Regions from separate parts of the Homo sapiens genome. Here all the other regions are linked to region 2. Evidence: promoter capture Hi-C in 16 types of primary human blood cells and fetal thymus (Javierre and others, 2016). All regions are on one chromosome and are shown on one strand. The core of a region is centred on a gene start or on the middle of the fragment in contact, and the rest is flanking DNA. Distances in the headings are between cores, read along the strand shown. Region 1 overlaps MARCHF6 (membrane associated ring-CH-type finger 6). Region 2 holds the start of LINC02213 (long intergenic non-protein coding RNA 2213). Region 3 overlaps ANKRD33B (ankyrin repeat domain 33B). Region 4 overlaps ANKRD33B (ankyrin repeat domain 33B).

Evidence for each region. Contacts are between HindIII fragments. The CHiCAGO score rates a contact against its expected background, and 5 or more counts as called.
Region 1: a fragment that was not itself captured here is called in contact with the fragment with the promoter of LINC02213 in region 2 in 1 of 17 cell types (neutrophils); the score reaches 5.1 in neutrophils.
Region 3: a contact is called between a fragment that was not itself captured here and the fragment with the promoter of LINC02213 in region 2, in 1 of 17 cell types (neutrophils). The highest score is 5.3, in neutrophils.
Region 4: a fragment that was not itself captured here is called in contact with the fragment with the promoter of LINC02213 in region 2 in 7 of 17 cell types (endothelial precursors, M0 macrophages, M2 macrophages and 4 more); the score reaches 6.8 in endothelial precursors.

The regions. Positions count from the first base shown.
Region 1 is chr5:10,435,454-10,438,276 of GRCh38, reverse strand. MARCHF6 (membrane associated ring-CH-type finger 6) reads right to left here. Exons shown (of 26, transcript NM_005885.4): 26 at 1-2,823. Among named protein-coding and RNA genes, the nearest start is that of ROPN1L-AS1, 5.0 kb to the left of the region's middle. The HindIII fragment of the contact is 4,108 bases long and covers 1-2,823 here.
Region 2 is chr5:10,520,557-10,523,484 of GRCh38, reverse strand. It overlaps LINC02213 (long intergenic non-protein coding RNA 2213), which reads left to right and starts at 1,401. Exons shown (of 3, transcript NR_134289.1): 1 at 1,401-1,729. The HindIII fragment of the contact is 13,630 bases long and covers 1-2,636 here.
Region 3 is chr5:10,646,739-10,649,687 of GRCh38, reverse strand. ANKRD33B (ankyrin repeat domain 33B) reads right to left here. Exons shown (of 4, transcript NM_001164440.2): 4 at 1-422. Among named protein-coding and RNA genes, the nearest start is that of ANKRD33B, 84 kb to the right of the region's middle. The HindIII fragment of the contact is 8,941 bases long and covers 1-2,949 here.
Region 4 is chr5:10,624,493-10,627,457 of GRCh38, reverse strand. All of the region lies in intron 2 of ANKRD33B (ankyrin repeat domain 33B), which reads right to left. Among named protein-coding and RNA genes, the nearest start is that of ANKRD33B, 62 kb to the right of the region's middle. The HindIII fragment of the contact is 2,727 bases long and covers 80-2,806 here.

The sequences.
Region 1 (2,823 bases), core at 16-2,515, 85 kb after region 2:
AGGAAAAAAACATCACGCAAGTCTTTCCTTTTTATCTGGGACATATGGTCAGGTATGTACAATGGATTTGATTGGTTTTACTCTAAGTATTCAGCTAAAAGACAACCTTAGTGAAACTGACTTTCTGATCTCGTAGCAGACATGCAGAAGTGGGCAGTAGCTTGCTATTGCACAAAATGTGGGGCCTTACTCTTCCCAGTGAGGACGGTCTACAGTTCAAGTTAGGGAGACAGAAGGGGAGGGATGTGTCCTCTGCAACTATGCATTTAAATGTATACATAAAAGGGAGTCGCCACAGTCACATTTAACTGGAGTTGTTTTTCCTTCCTATTATAACATCTGGATTATCTATGCTGGCTAATAATGCATATTTCTGCAATCTTAAAGCAATCTTGCAATAACACAAAAACAAACAAAAAAACTAGACTACAATTAACATTCACTTTATTCAGTTTTGTCCTCTCAACTTAGAAGGCAACAAATGACCACATTAAAAAGGGAGCATTTCAGAATATATATACATAAAATTGGTCTGGGTACCCTAAGGTGTTTGCGTTGATAGAAAATTGACACCCCAAACTAAGTGTTCTACTTAGCTTCTACAATAGTTATTCCTAGACCTTAGATTAGTCATTACATTTTTATTTAAGGTACTATGTTACTTTCATGACTACAAAATGAGGCACTCGTACAAAACAGGAATGAAAACATACATATACTGTCTTGTCTTTATGTCGTATTAATGCCAAAGATATTGTCAGGGATTATTTTAAAGAAGCCCTTACTCATGATGGCTATTTTTAAAAATGGCACAGGACAGTAACAGGCTGAAAAGAAAACACCTGGTTGAGGGGACAAATTAAGTAAATACAAGACAGCTTAACCAAGGAAGTCAGCGAATCTCCACAAATGAGGCTTTTAATAATACTTTACTGGTAAGACATTTTAGTTGGGTTTTTTTTTGATGGCTGAATAACATCCTAAAGAAGTATTTTAAATATAATCTTTTAATTTTACAATGTAGAAAACTTCTCACAGTAAGTAGAGAGCTTAGAGTACTCAACCCTGAAAATGAAAATAAGTAGCTAGCTTGGAAAGTTTTAAAAAGCGCCAGTGTTCTTATGGCACTACATTCTCCTGCACGTGTGCGTGTGTTCACGCACATTCGCAAACGCAATACAATGTAGAACTGTCCAGTGTTTGTTTTGTTTTAAAAAGTCATCAATTCAACCTAAATTCAAGAATTACACTTTAATAGTGGCATTTTGCCAATACAGAAATGACGTATCTTGGATCAAATCATTTTAAGGAAAGTTATTCTATATTACTTGAATAAGGGAAAGAAAATACACAAGACAAGAATCCACAATAATAGCAGTTACATTAAATGTTGAAATAAAAATTACTTTTTGTTTACATCTGGAATTGAGATGGCCCATCTTCATTGTTTCTCCAGAGTACTAAGAGGGGGAAAAAAGTCACCTAAAAACATGGGAAGTTTTTTAAGGCTAGCTATACACAAACGTCACATTGGCATTTTTCTTCAGTTTTCATCTCAACTATTAGTACTAAATAGTTTAAAAATCAAACATAATTTACTAATAATGAACAACTGCACACTTCATACTATGACCGTTTGATAACTGGTCATGTAAAACTATCACCAAATGCTGATTTGTCTTCTATATATAAATAGTAAAAATAAAACAAAAAGGTCTTCTTTCCTAGTTAACCTTCTTGAAGGTTGTTTTAACCCAATATAAAATTAAGCAAAATAATAGTATAATTTAAAAAAAAATTTATGTGAAGAAGGGCAGCAATACTAACATTTTCTGAACTATGGGTTTTCAATATTTAAAAGGCTCTTGGTTAAATACTAAAACCCGGATGCTACCCAAGCAAATATTATGCTGGAAAATGCTTTCCCTATGAAAATACTTATCTCATTGAAAACAACACGATAAAGTACAATTGAAAAACTAGGGGAGAATTCTTAAGTAAGACAATATAAATTACCTGCCAGTAAAATGGAGGGCAATTTTTTGGCCATTCATATTGTTTGTTTACAAAACATTGATAAGATTCATTTAAAATTCTGTAGGATTAAGAATTTTTAACCTTTTGAAGTATCTGCCTAGGATCTCTTGCTGTTAAAACAGATATGTTCCAATGACTTTATACCAAGATCCACAAATTCTTTGAAAAATTAAAAAACAAAACAAAACAAAACAAAAAACCCAAAATTAATATAATCAAGTTGGCCAGGCGTGGGGGCTCACACCTATAATCCCAGCACTTTGGGAGCCCAAGGAGGACGGATCACCTGCAGTCAGGAGTTCCGAGACCAGCCTGGCCAACATGGTGAAACCCTATCTCTACTAAAATAACTAAAATAAGCCAGGTGTGGTGGCACGCACCTGTAGTACCAGCTACTTGGGAGGCTGAGGCAGGAGAATCGCTTGAACCTGGGAGGCAGAGGGTGCAGTGAACCAGGATCGTGCCACTGCACTCCAGCCTGGGCAACAGAGTAAGACTCTGTCTCGGGGGCAAAAAAAAAAAAAAAAAAAAAAAAAAAAAAATATATATATATATATATATATATATATATATATATATATATATATATATATATATATAGTTATATAGTTATATAGTTATATGCTCAATTCAATAATAATGTTTTTCTCCCAAAGAGAGCAATTTAGAAATACACTATGACAGGCAGCATTATATTTTAAAATCCTAATTTTTTATAGTAGGACTAAATTTCTGAGTAAAGGTAGGGCTAACAAAGACCTTATTTCAAATGAGAGAAAAGGCTGC
Region 2 (2,928 bases), core at 152-2,651:
GTAATCAAATCATGGGGACGGGTCTTTCCCCTGCTGTTCTCGAGATAGTGAATAAGTCTCAGGAGATCTGATGATTTTATGAAGGGTAGTTCCCCGCACAAGCTCTCTTGCCTGCCACCATGTAAAATGTGCCTTTGCTCCTCCTTCACCTTCCACCATGATTGGGAGGCCTCCCCCACCATGTGGAACTGTGAGTGCATTAAACTCTTTTTCTTTATAAATTACCCAGTCTTGAGTATTTCTTCACAGGAGTGTGAAAATGGACTAATACAGATCATGATCCCTGCCACAACCTTGCTTGAGTGTGGCCTACTGGGCCCTTCATTGTCTAAATCTGGCTCACATCTGAGTTTTGACTGAGCATCTCTCACCCTTTCTAGGGGCCACCTCTCTCTATTCACACACACATACAGACACACACACACAGGCACAAACATGTGCACACACACACACACATGTGCGTGCACCCCACTAAAGCAATACCAACCCGTTTGCCCAGGCCCAGCCCTCTCACTCCCCAATGCCCTCCCCTCCCCTTCTCAGGCCTGATGTCAGCCTCAATTCCACCAGCAGGCTTTTTTCAGGAACTTGCAACTCCTTCCAGTCAAAATACAGCATTTTCTGTATGCCCCACATTCTCAACGCACAGATGATGAGAGACAGACAGATAACTGTCTTCTCCCAGTTTAGTTAGTGAGACAAAAAAATACAATTGCCTGCCAAGTCTAAGCACCCTCTAGACCTGCACAGTCTTCCAGCCGTCCAGTCGAGGCCTAGGCCTGTGCCCATCAGAGGTGACACCACGGAATGAGCGTTTCCCGTGAGCCTGGTGCTCTTCGGGCACTAACAACACTCGGTCCTCAAACAGCCTGCCCAGGTGTGTACTGTTATCACCTCCATTGCACAGAGGAAGACGTGCAAGGCACAGAGAGGTTAAGTCACTTTCCCACTGCCACAGAGCTGGTAAGTGGTGGAGACTGGATTTGAACCTAGGCAGCTCTAGAACTCGCTCTCCTAACCAGAATCCAAAGGGCCTTGCCTCACCAAATGTCCCCATTCCCAGACCTGCATCACCCAACAGTGCCCATGACACGGGGTTTACCATAGTTATCTATGCTGCGTAACAAGCATCCCACATTTGATGGCATCAAACAAGAACCATTTTCCCATGCCCAGGGATTCTGCAAGTCAGGAGTTTGGAGAGGATGAAGCCTCAGCCAGGAAGCTGTGAATGGCCATGGCTGACATCCTCCAGGGGCTTCTTCCCTCTTAACCCCTGCCCTGGGAAGCCAGGTTCAGCCAAGCCTGTGTATGAGCCCCAGTGCCTGGCTGCTTCCTGTACCTTGGGCTTCTGGCAGCACAGAGGCGGAGTTCTGAGCAGGAACTTCCTGAAGGGAACGTTCCAAGGGAACCAGGCCTCAGCATCAGGCCTGTTCTGCCCTGGCCTCGGATTGTAGCACTACGCCAGCCTGGGACATCATCGGCATCGATTCTACTCCATCCTATCAGTCACAAGGGAGCCACAGGCCAGCCCTGGGTTCCCAGGGATGGAGAGACTCTGCTTCTGCATGCGGGAATGACACAGTCACACTGCAGAAGAACACGAGTGTAGAAGGCAGCATCATGGCCATTTTTGGTAAACACAACCTGCTGCTCACCCGCCTTGCCCAAGCCTACCTCTTCCAGAAACTTCTGTGTCCCAATTATGGTTCACCTTGATGTCCTAAAGGTATTGACTGCTTACTTCATTGGTCACATTGTCCCTGTGAATGGAAAACCATGACTTAGGGCTACCATACGAGCATTCCATGGTGGCCAGAGTGGCCTGACCCCCTAGTGGTACTAGTGGGGATGACGCTGGAACTGATAGTGGCCTCCCTCTTGTGTTGTTGTGGCATCTTTCCCGGCAATTGGGTGATCAGAAGACACCTGCATTTCTGACCCAAAGCTCTTACAACTTGCAATTGCTCAGGTGGTTGGGGGCGGATCACCTGAGGTTGGGAGTTCGAGACCAGCCTGACTAACGTGGAGAAACCCCAACTCTACTAAAATTACAAAATTAGCCAGGCGTGGTGGTGCATGCCTGTAATCCCAGCTACTCGGGAGTCTGAAGTAGGAGAATCACTTGAACCCGGGAGGCAGAGGTTGTGGTGCACCGAGATCACGCCATTGCACTCAAGCCTGGGCAACAAGAGCCAAACTCCATCTCAAAAAAAAAAAAAAAAAAAGGAACTTGAGCTTTCAGGTTATCATTTGACCATTGACCAAAAACAAGCAGCATTTCTGCTGTGGGGGGGGCGGGGGGGCAGGGGGGCCAGGGGGTGGAAATGGTACAGAATCTTATATTTGTTCAGCTGCTTTATTTTTTTTTTGGTGGCCCCTGGATGAAGAATGGAGATGCAGGCTTGCTGTGTGGCTATAATTGATTTAATACTCAAAAAAAGGGACCAAGAGTCAAAAGCATTTTCTCAAAGTACTCACTACTTTTAAATGACTCTCTAGAAGGAGAGGAAAGGAGGTTTCCTCCAACTCTGCTTTCCCTGGCCTTTGAGAGGCGTGGAAAGAGCCATACGTCCTCACAAATGGTATTCAAAATATGTTTGGCAGCAACTTTTTTATGAAAACACACAAAAGCTTGAGCTAGTACACTGAAATATTAAATACACTTCAATATTTTAGATACTCCTGAAATGCCAACTGACCAAACCAGTCTTTTTTCCCAACTGGGTGTGAAACTCACAACGATCAAGTTTAAGCAATGTATTCATAACTGAGCGTTGACCCCAGGAGATGCCCACTGCCCCAGTAGGGAGGGAGCCACGACTTCTGTGCAAGGGTGCGGCCATGATTGTGTTTTCTTGGAGCCTGCTTCCTAGAGGCGAGCTGACTTCTGTTCCAAGAGGACAGGACAGGCCGGGCACGGTGGCT
Region 3 (2,949 bases), core at 26-2,525, 130 kb before region 2:
GCCCCGTGCAGCCCGCGCCGCCAGGATCTCCTGCACCGCCAGCCGCCTCTTCCCCACGCTCGGAGGGCTCTCAGGGCACACGGTCTGGCACACGATGGCCACGGCGGGGCTGTAGAGGCTCGTGGTCATCCGGACCATGTGGTCCAGGACGCCCCCGTCCTCCGGGCCCCGCACGGAGCGCGGCGTCAGCACGGACAGCACGCAGTCTGTGAGCCTCTGCAGGCAGTTCTTGGAGCCCGCGGGCTTCCGCGCCGCTTCAGGGGGCGGCGGCAGCTCGGGCCGGTACTTCTCCCAGAACTGCTCCGGGCAGGGGCGCTCCAGCAGCCTCTGCATGAGACGGACGGCATCCACGCGGCCCGTGTAAGTGGCCCACTCCTGCGGCGACATCCCACGGCGGGGGTCCCTCGCGTGGACATCCGCCCCTGCAAAACGCAAAACACAAACAGAAGTGGGTGGCGGCAACAAGGACTCTTCCCTCCCAGGCAGAGCCTGGGGCAAAGGCAAAACTGCCCCCACCCCCCACCCCTGGCCCCAAGCCTCCTAACAGACTGCACCTAGTTCACTCTGCGAACCCTGTGCTCATCTGAGCGCCGGAAGGCGGGCCTGGAGTGCAGTGGCGGGAACACGTCCTACTGTAGCCTCGACTTCCGGGGCTCAAGCCATCCCCCCAAGTCAGCCTCCCGAGTAGCTGGGGCTACACCACCGCCCAGGTAATTTTCTGTAGAGATGGGGCCTGGCTATGTGGCCCAGGCTGGTTTCGAACTGCTGGGTTCAAGCAATCCTCCCACCTCCGCCTTCCAAAGTGCTGGGATTACGGGCGTGAGCCACCGTGCCCAGCCCAACCTGCCTTTTAAGTGCTCCATTGATTATCTGTCCTGAATAAAACCCCGCCTGAATTCAGCACCTAAATTACAGAATTTTTTTTTTCGAGACAGAATTTCACTCTTGTTGCCCAGGCTGGAGTGCAATGGCACAATCTCCGTTCACCGCAACCTCTGCCTCCCGGGTTCAAGCGACTCTCCTGCCTCAGCCTCCCGAGTAGCTGGGATTACAGGCATGTGCTACCACGCCAGGCTAATTTTGTATTTTTAGTAGAGAGGGGGTTTCTCCATGTTGGTCAGGCTAGTCTCGAACTCCCAACCTCAGGTGATCCACCCGCCTCGGCCTCCCAAAGTGCTGGGATTACAGGCGTGAGCCACTGCGCCTGGCCAAATTACAGAATTTTTTAAAGAAATAAGATCCTATAGCTTTCCATCAATGGAGAGATGACCAGACAACAAAGCTGCCTTGCATACTTGAATGCTGTGGCTAGAAAGTTCTAAAAATATGACCAGTAACAGTCACTTGCAAAGTGGTGGCACCCCAGCTGTGGTCTCACTCTTGAGGACTGCCATGGGTCCTGGACTGTGGGAAATGGGTGGTTCCTTCGCTTCTCCCACTGCGGCCTAGCTGGCTGGGGTCTGTCTACCTTTAACCGATGGTGGGCTTTTCCAGGATAGAAAAATTCATTTTTGTTTGCTCAACACGTTTCATCCTGGTGGGTAGGGGGCATGAATTTTTAAAAGGCTTGTTGCAAAAAGAATGGCAGTCACAGTGGCTGTGGGCTAGTAACAGAGAGAGGGTCTAAGACTTGGGTGTCCTAACCTCAGTCTAATGTACTTCCTACCACCTGGCAGTCCTGGTGTGATGGTCAGTTTTAGTTTTCTATGTCAACTTGGCTAGGCTAGAATACCCAGTGATTTAATCAAACATGGATCTAAGTGTTGCCCCAAAGGTATTTTGCAGCTGTGGTTAACATCTATAATCAGTTGACTCTAAGTCAAGGAGATTACCCTTCATAATGCGGGTGGGCCTCGCCCAATTAGTTGAGGGCATTAAGAGCAAAGACCAAGGTTTCCTGGAAACAAAGAAATTCCACCTCAAGACTGCGGCATCTACTTACTGCTGCCTGAGTTTCCAGCCTTCGAGCCTACCGCACCAGTTTCAGACTCACCAACCCCCCAAACCACACAGCCAATTCCTTAAAATAAATCTCTTGATATCCACATCCTATTGGTTGACTGATAGGTCCCCTTACACAGTCTCCCTGACACTAGTCACTCCCTTAATAAATCTCCCCAGTCCACCCACTGCCCCCAAATATTGCAAAGTTAAACTTCAACTCAACTTGATGAAATCTGCATAAATTTCAATGTTGTAGTATAGAAATTAATACGGAATTGCTGTTCAATTAATCTTGGTCCAATCTCAGTCCCACATACTGTTAAAAATCATTGAGGGGCCAGGCATAGTGGCTCACACCTGTAATCCTAGCACTTTGGAGGCCGAGGAGGGCAGATCTCCTGACGTCAGGGGTTTGGGACCAACCTGGCCAATACATGGTGAAACCCCACCTCTACTAAAAACACACAAAAAATTAGCTGGGCGTGGTGGCAGGCACCTGTAATCCCAACTACTCAGGAGGCTGAGGCAGGAGAATCGCTTCAACCCGGGAGGCAGAGGTTGCAGTGAGCCGAGATCGCACCACCGCACTCCAGCCTGATTAACAGAGAAAGACTCCATTTCAAAAAAAAAAAAATCATTGAGGATTTCAAGTCCCATTAGTCATATCTCCACCAGCAAAGCAACATGGAGAACTAGGGCAATTATCTAGTCTGTGAGCTCAAAGGGGACCGGACCCGACAGACGCTTCTTCATTTATATCCCATGCAGACCCAGGAGTCTGACATGTGATGGCTGATCAACGTGTGCTGAACTGAGGAAGGTCGGGTCCCCAGCCACTGCCCTGGCCTGTTGGCCCACAGTGGCCTCATGGCTCTGGCAGACCCAGCTCACCTGAGCTTGCCTGGTAAGGATCTTAGTTCTGTGACACATTAAAGAATAGCCATATTAGAAGAGTGGTAATTATTTGGAACTGGATATCAGGATGGAACTCATTAGCTAGAGTAC
Region 4 (2,965 bases), core at 194-2,693, 100 kb before region 2:
CCTCAGAATTTTACAATTAAATGCAAGAAATAACAAGTTGCAAGCACACATCAGAGGTTCCTTATACCCAAAACAAGCTTCACGTGCTGTATCCCATCACCAGCTCAAAGAGACCCCTGGCGTTTCCTCACTTTACCACGTCCATGCTATTCTGTTAAAGCACAACAAGGAAACAGAAATAAACACACAACTCTATCCATGGGACTTCTTGTTCCTTTCTTTGGTTATCTTATTTTATTTTTGTTAGTGGAGCGGTGGTGAAAGTTGAAATGACTGGCTAAATGAGACTTAGGGATTACATGGGGATTTATTTTCAAACGTTCTCTCCATTTACAGACCTAGTACAGATTTGGCTGTATTTTTATTGTGCATTAAATAGCCGAGGAAATTAGACTTTTTAGAGAACACTCAAAAGGCAGATGAAGGCATTTGCATCCGAATTCGTACTCATAAATGCTGTGTCCTCCAGAAACCCAGAGCTTCCAACTCTCAGACAACCAACCCAGTTGCCATAGCAAATAATATAAACATATGGTTGCTTTAAGATTGCGCTTCACAATGCTGATTCTGCTTAGTGCGACTGCTGTCTACACAAGCCATCCTCCATCACTGGTTTGGCACGGGCTTGTGACGCAACCCTGGTTGGTGAGATGGCAACGATACTCTGCTGGAGCCTTCTGGAAATGTTTTCCTGTCTTATAAAGGGAAACGCCGACAGGGATTTGCTCCTCTTCCTTGATGTCCCTGAGTGTTGCAACGTGAAGCCGTGGCACTTCTAGCAGCTGGGGCCACCTTGGGACCATGAAGGAAAAGGCGAATGTATTTCTGAGAAGTGGCTCTAGGTCCCAGCATCACCCAGCTACTCAGTGAAGCAACCCTGCAACATCGCCCGCAGATGTCTTGTGTTGCAAGAGAAGGCAGTGTCCTTGTGGTTGAAGCCAAAAGCATCCTAACAGGTACTAGGCTCAAAAGAGAGCTGGGGAAATACAACTGAAAACCAGAGTTTTGGTTCATTTGAGTAGGGAAATACTGAAAAGACTGATCTCAGCCAGGGCTTGCAAGAACACTCTTGGACACTCAGGGGAAAGGAGAAATCGCCACAGCTTTCTAAAGACCACTTGGCAGCTGCATACACTTAAAACAGGCACAGCCCTTGCTGAAGCAATTCTGTTCTAAGAGTGTGTCTGCACATTGCTTCTCCTCTTCCTTGCCCTGCTTTCGGCCTAGGAAGCTGACCTGCACCAACAGCACCTGCCCAGTTTCCGCCCCAATGAGGTTTCTGGGTTGGCTCAGCAGGGGACCAGGGTGGAAGGAGCGGGACATCTGGCCCTGCCTCCCACTCCGGCCCCTGGCTGCGGTTCTAGGCCGAGGCTGCCTCTCGGGTTCCAGCTTCTTGGCCTGTGTCACTCGGGTTCTAGGCCGAGGCTGCCTCTCGGGTTCCAGCTTCTTGGCCTGGGTCACTCTCTGCAGAGTCCCTCCCCTTAATCCTTTCAATGTTGGTTCCCTTAACTCTACCCTTCCCCCCGTAATTGACAGGCCCTCATCAACTCCTCTGTTCAGCCCTCTGAGACCACCTGTCACTCAACATGCTTCAAGCTGCCAGGATCCTAACACGCTGTCCTCAGAGATGCACCCCAGATCCAAAGACTTCACTACAGCCTTGCTGCCGTTGATTAACTCAAAAGCCCACCTGTCCAGTAACTGGGACAGTTAAGTATACCACGGTTCATGCATTTTACACAATATCCTCTTTTCCAACAAATATTTAAGAAGCAAGTACTTCATGTTCAAGGACTGGCCTAAGAGCCGGGTCCACCACAGTGAGTGAAGGCCAGTCATAACGCAGCCTCTCAAATTTGAAGTCTTGGTGGGGAACCGGGCATGAGCCACACATCCCCGTGCAGGAAGGCAGGGCTACGAGCGCCTGGCAGGGCTCAGGGACACCGACACAGCAGGAGCTTCTAGATTAATAACCATGTGAACAAAACCACTAAAAACACAGTCTCAACAGCACTAGCCCAGTCATGTGAATACAAAGCGCACATACATACGTGTGTGTTTGGAAAGGACTGAATGAGGTCTGAAGAGGTGACTCCTGAGTGCTGATAAGGGAGCTGGAATATTTGGAAGACAGAGAAGGGATCTTTTTCTTCCTCCCTGATAATACTTTTGTAGTCATTTTTGGCTGTAAGCAAATATGCATGGACAGCTTTTGAAATTAACAAATCATCAAAGAAATAAAACTGGTTATGAAATTGATTAAAATGGGACATCACCTGATTGGGCCTAAACAGCCTCTTTGGCAAAACAGCACAGGAAAGTCATGAACACATGCTCACCTGCCTTCCTCATTTTCACTTTAATTCCGTGATGCCTCTGTGTCTGTCTGACAACATCTCTCGTGGGGTCTGTGACTCTGCTGGTCTTCAGTGCCCACTGAGAGGGGTCCTTTGCCGTCATCAGGCATAAAATCTTCAAAGCTCTCCATCCTCAATGTGGGGTCCCTGGGCCAGTGGCATCAGCCTCACCAGGAAACCTGTTGATCTGCTCATTCTTGGGCCCCACCCCAGGCCTATTCAAAGAAAGACTCCAGGGGCAGGGCCTGGCAGTCTGTGTTTCCACCAGATCTGTGTTAATGCTCACATGAGCCAGCCCAGGTGATGCTGACGCCGGAGGCGCAAGATTGGGAGCCAGTGTCTAAGGAAACTATGCCCATGGGGACAGGGGCAGCCCCTGGAGGTTCAGAAAGAAATTAGGGAAAATCTCTTCGGCACATTGAGGCAATTAAGACACACACAAGGAAGCTTTTTAATCTGTGTTTGTTTAAATGGTGTAAAGTCCCTCTCCCCTCTGCCTCCGTATGCAACCTCAACAATTCAGTCCCAAAGCCTCAGGCAGCAGCCTAGGTTGGGTGTCCAGGGATCAGAGCCCAGGCCAGAGGGTGGGTGCACACAGTGGCGGCCAC